Regions from separate parts of the Homo sapiens genome. Here region 1 is linked to region 2. The links are contacts of gene promoters, found by promoter capture Hi-C in blood cells and fetal thymus (Javierre and others, 2016). All regions are on one chromosome and are shown on one strand. Each heading gives the region's core, a stretch centred on a gene start or on the middle of the fragment in contact. The rest is flanking DNA. Distances are from core to core; before and after follow the strand shown.

Evidence for each region. The method cuts DNA at HindIII sites, captures the fragments that hold promoters and counts their contacts. A CHiCAGO score of 5 or more calls a contact.
Region 1: a contact is called between a fragment that was not itself captured here and the fragment with the promoter of RBM17 in region 2, in 3 of 17 cell types (non-activated CD4 T cells, naive CD4 T cells and fetal thymus). The highest score is 7.4, in non-activated CD4 T cells.

The regions. Positions count from the first base shown.
Region 1 is chr10:6,680,164-6,682,968 of GRCh38, reverse strand. No RefSeq gene overlaps it. Among named protein-coding and RNA genes, the nearest start is that of LINP1, 56 kb to the left of the region's middle. The HindIII fragment of the contact is 1,844 bases long and covers 553-2,396 here.
Region 2 is chr10:6,087,776-6,090,645 of GRCh38, reverse strand. RBM17 (RNA binding motif protein 17) reads right to left here and starts at 1,612. Exons shown (of 12, transcript NM_032905.5): 1 at 1,453-1,612. RefSeq lists silencers at 881-940, 1,211-1,300, 1,311-1,750 and enhancers at 116-954, 1,911-1,960. The HindIII fragment of the contact is 5,297 bases long and covers 1-2,404 here.

The DNA.
Region 1 (2,805 bases), core at 225-2,724, 590 kb before region 2:
TGGTATCTTCAGAAGCTTTCACTTTAGTAGACAACGTAAGTCACACAACTAAGTAACGGCACGCATGGTAGAAAGTGATATGTTCTGTAGGAGAGATATAGAAAAAATTGTCCCGATATAGAAAAAATTGTCCCTATGGCAGTTTAAAGAGGGAAGAGAAGCTTCAAAGGAGGTGATGGGCAGACAGCATTTGAAATAGGTCTTAAGTGATAGGTTGAATTTGGACATTTGGAGATAACGGGTAAAGAAATGCCAGGCAGAGGAAGCAGAATTCATTTGAAATAAAGTTAACTACTCTTGAAGAAACTGCATATCTGTGCTGTTAATTTAGAGCTCTCTTGTAATGTGACTACAACTTTGGCAACATGAAGAGATAAAAACGATACTACTCACCAAAATGCAAATTCTGACCCATTGAATAATAAACTGATTAATAAGGCCATCCCTGAGAAGAATGTCTTTTGTTCATATAGCTCAGAATAAATTGTTGCATGGTAACAATGGAACCAGCCAGTTCATTGCACTTCCCTCCCATAGACTGAGAATGAAGCTTTCTTGTTACTAGATTACATTTTTGAAGAAAGAAATATATATATATAATACTGCCCTTTAGAAGGAAAGCATAATTTCCATTCCAAACATTGGTTTTGGGTGGCAGACACACACACTCATTAGGACAATTCTCTGTGGCATAATCAACATTGCTGTTGAATGTATTTCTGATGGAAAAAAAATCCCAAAAATACACTTGAACTTGTATAATCTCTGAAAAATTATACCTTTCTTTAATGTTTTACCCCCAAAATTTCTTTTGTAGTTAATGCCCATGATGAATCAAATAATGAACCAATGAGTTAGCCTAAACACAAAAGGGCCAGAAAAAGAAAAAAAAAAAGAACTATGCTAATAAAAAAGATCAGAATATGCCACCCTTAAATATGCCACTTTGACATAAAAATTATTTGAGCTGAAGGCACTAGAGAAACAGCAGATACAGGAAGAATTCTCTGGCCTTCCTCTTTCTGCCTGAAAAACAGGGAATACATTTTTATTTGTAAAGGCGTCTCCCTCTCCTGTACCAGGAAGAGGAGAATGACTCTTAATCATGCAACATAACGCTTATCACTAGAGACTTGCGTTTGAATTAAAAAAAAAAACTTACTAAATAACCCTTGTCTATATATAATATATATTTTATATATATATAATTTTTTCCACAATTTATCACACCTAGAAACCCCTTTTCTTTTGTCACTTCTTCACAATGTATCACCCTTTGTTAAAATAGTATATAAGCTCTCAAACTTAACCATTTCTTTGGGATTTCACTTCTTTTCTGCAAAGCTGCCACATGCATTTGAAATAAAATGTTTTTTCCTGTTACTCTGTATTTTATCAGTTTGATTTGCAAGCTCCAGTTACAGAACCTAAGGTGATAGAAAGAAGTTCCCCTAGATTGGCAACATCATGACTATCCAATAAATGTTTGTAGAAAGATGCCAACAGCCTTTAGGTACTCCCAAAGGATCAGATAATTATTAGATCTAGGAGGTGGGGTCGGGAGTGGAGTATCTCGAGACCATGCCAAACTTCTCTTTACCAATGAAGAAACAGGGACTGGGAGTCTTATTTGTGACACACAGCCCAAGCACTCACCGCGAATTTACATTTAAGTTACCAATTAGAGGTATGTTTGCAAAATGAGTCTTCTGACTGCATTGCAGAATCCTTTCTGCTATTCCCTGGTGCCTCTCAACTCACACAACCAGAGAAACCCAGTTTAACCTTTTTTATTTGTGTCTGTTTTTAACACATGTATGTTATTCTTATTTGATTACCAGTGTGATAGAAAATATCCATAGAATCCTGAGATGAGTTGGGCAGATAATAAATCTCGACTTGCTGGACGCTTAGACTTGGAGGACTTCCTTTGAACACAGAAGTACGTCCTGCCATTTGAAGATTTGAAGATGCATGTGAAAATGAGATTTTTTGAGGTTTTGTTTCCCAGGCAACTGCTCTCAATTCAAGATTGGATGTGAGCATTAGAATCCCCCCAGAGGTACTCTCCCCCTCCCACCCTCATCCTCTTTACTGCAATGAAGCTGTAGACTCAGAGGACCCAGCGTTCTAGCCTCCTTTGGAGACTGAAAGCAGATGCAGAGAAGGTTAAGAAATGATGCGAAATTCGTAAGCATAAAATGCCTGCAGGCAAGCAAAGCATTCTAAAAACATTCAGTGCCGAGAAAAGGCACGTGTTGACCAACGTATGGGGAGGCTAGAAAAGATGGGAAAAGAAGCCATTCTGTCATCGGTCATAACCTTCCAATATCATTTTATCTCAGCAGATAATGGAACAGGGAAAGCCAGGTTTTTCAAAGCCATAAAGTAAAGCTTTAGTAGCTGAATGACAACTAAATTGCTGTCGGGGTGGTTTAGCACAAAACAAGCCACTACTGTTCTCTGTTAAAACAGTTCCTGAGATTTGCAAGCCAAGGAATCCAAAATCACCCAAGCAGTCAACATGACTTAAAGATTTTCCAGTAGTTTCAGGGCCCATTAAATTTATGTAATATCTACAATATCAACTATGAAAAAAATGTTTTGTATTCATGGATAAAATGTAAGTGGCTACTTCTCCAGAAAAGAGTATATGTCTTTTCTACCAGAAACTTCAGCTTTTTGAAGCAATGGAGAGTTTCACAGTGGGGGGGTCTGGCGGCATGGGACATCTTAAACTGGTTATTTCAAAGGTATTTTTTTCTTTCTCAATGTGATCATGGCACTAGACTTTAGATATAAATC
Region 2 (2,870 bases), core at 363-2,862:
GAGGTCTGAAAAATTCATAGGCAGGGGAGAATGGGAAGGTAAGTTAAAACAAACCAGGTAAAAAGAAATCCACTTTAAATAAAGCTGCATTTGGAAGTGTACAACAATTCTCTCAAGAGCCTCCAGAAAGGCTGCCTTTGGTTCCGCAGAGCTCCACAACCGCACAACCTGCTCTGTTATAAACTGGACAGCACGCAGCACCTTGCTTAACTAACTCTAAAAATAAAGCCCTCTCGTTTAGCTCACTAAACTGTTACCCCATATTCCCTAAAAGCTGTCATTACGATCAAAATGTCTGCAGCCTTTACAACTAAAAATGTGGAAACTTGTGTTGCATCCTTTTAAAAACTCCATCTGCTGCGGGGAGCCAGTGCACATCTACCCATCTATTTGAGTATATGCGAATCTTGCCCTTATCTAGAATATCCTATTTCCCATCCATATGCCTGGCTCTAGCAAAATAAGGACCCTCAATGGCGCTTCTTTACTGCTTCTCAAGAAACCTCCATGTTCTGACCTGACTACTCCTGGAAACACAGCAGCCCCTCCTCAAACCTTTCTTTCTGCCTAACCTGCAGCTTCCAGAACGCACTACGGGGCTTCGCTTCTGCTACTTTCGCACTTACTTCCTCCGCCGGCAGCCTTTTTCCCACCTCTCACATCTAACAACGTACCTTCAAGACTCAACATAAGCATGACCTCCTCTCTCAAGAGAGGTCCTTCCAGACCCCACTTGCGTTTCTCAAATCAACCCGGGCCTGGGTTTTCACGCCTGCTTTCCCAGAAACCAAACTCCTGCAAGCAGGGGCAGAACCTCATTCCACCTGCATTCTCCGATCATTACACATTCTCGGGGCAAGAGGCGAAGCTCAAAGACTGCCTGGGGTCGGACGTGAGCGCTGAAACACCGCTCAAACTGCACGAGCCGAGGCGACGCCGGGGTTAGGGCTGCATTCCTGTCCCGGGCAGCTCCGGAGTCTGAGAAACGCCAACGTCTGCACTCCCAGTTCTGAGACCCCGGGAGGAACCGGCTCCGAGCCCCAGAGAGGGGCAACCGTGCAGGGCCAGGGGGGACACGCTACGGGCTACTCGGTTCTGGTGACCAGACAATTTCGTCAGGATGCGGTGCACGAGACGGAGAAGAAACGCTCTTCAGCACCAAACAGCCCGAGGCAGACATGAGGAGGAGGAGGAGGAAGGGAAGAGGGAGAAGGTCAGGGCCAGGGTCACCAGAGGCGGCGGCGGGCGGAGGGTACCGGGCCGCAGCCGCGTGGAGAGACCAGCGCCCGCCGCGGGGACTGAGACCCTCGGAGGCTCCGGCTGCGCTGGCCCGGCCTCCGCCCCTCGCGACGGGCCTAAAGCCGCGGGCTTGCGTCTAGCGCCTCCCGGGAAGGCGCGCCCGCCTCAGGTCCCGCCAGGCCACCCACCCGGGGCCGCCGGGGCGCCACTTACCCGGCCCGCCCGGCCGACTCTGCCCATGAGCCGCGCCGGCGGCAGAGCGGAGCCGGGCGGCACTCCGCGGAAACCCGCCAGCGGCAGGAGGCCTCGGCGGCGCCCACCCTTCGCTGAGTCCTCAGGGCGCTCGGCGGCGCGGGGTCAGGGAGCGCGGGCTGCCGGGAGAGCGCGCCCGCGCCTGCGCCCCGCCTGCGCCTGCGCCTGCTTCGGCCTCTGCGCCTGCGCCGAGGGCGCCTTGCCGCACTGCCCCCTGCCCGCGGGAGGACCGCACTGCACGCTCCCCTCCGCCGGCGTCTTCTTACCATCAAGAGGTGTCGCCCTGGCGCACATTTTCGAAATTCCACAAGGCTTGGGGAGCGCGGCAGCGCCCCCAGATGGTGAGGAGGAGAAGTGGTCCGAGGCCGGGCTTTCTGATAGGGGAGGTGGGGGAAGTCCCTCCAGGCCCCTCGATCTCATTCATTCAAAGCCACTCCTATATAAGCAAAAAGTTGAAAATAAGTCTGCATAGGCCAGATGCTGCAAAAGGATGGCAAGGAGCACGAGGTTAAGCGTAAGATTATGGAAACAGATGCCGCGATTAGGGGTACAGAAAAGAATGTCAATGCTATAAAGCCTCGGTCTTTAAAAACGACGTCGCTGACAGAAGCAGGGAGGGAAAGGGAAAGTGGGACTTCGGGTAAATATGATTTTTACATCTGTAATTAATTGGGTGTCAAATAGAGTTCAAGCCGATAAATCAAATAGTAGAGATTTAAGCAGACGTCTTAGTCCGAAGGAGTATACCAAGAAAGTTACTATAATCCATTAAAATCCAGTCATTAAGAAAACGGGAAAAGGGGGAAAAAAGAAATACAGTGGAGAGACAAAAGACAATCTAAAGAAATAGAGGATTAAGGACGTCATGGGATGGTATGATTCTGAGGGTAACCCAGAACAAAACTACAAAGCTTTCAAATAATCCACACATACATGCACCCACACATACATGCATGCACACACACACACACACACACAAAACCACAGCAAAAAAAATATATATATAGGGAAATATTTTAAAAAGTTACAAAACAGAAAGCGTAACCAAACTATATGACAGAACAAGACCAAATGTCTCACAAGAAGAAATATAGACCTAAGCTTACCTACTAAAAAACTACAATCTCAGATAGGAGCACAAACCATCATGCAACTCAGTGTTGTATACAAGAAAGTGCTAACGTTATTCTGAGTTTGAAAATACAAGATTGGAAAAGATATACCAGGAATATGCAAAAAAATTAAAAAAATCAGGAATCACAAACCGCTTACTACAAAGTTGATTTCAGGGCAAAAAGCATTAAGTAAGATTAAGAAGGACATTTTATAATCTTGAGGAGCACAATTCACAATCAAGAAAAAAATAGGAAAAATAGGAA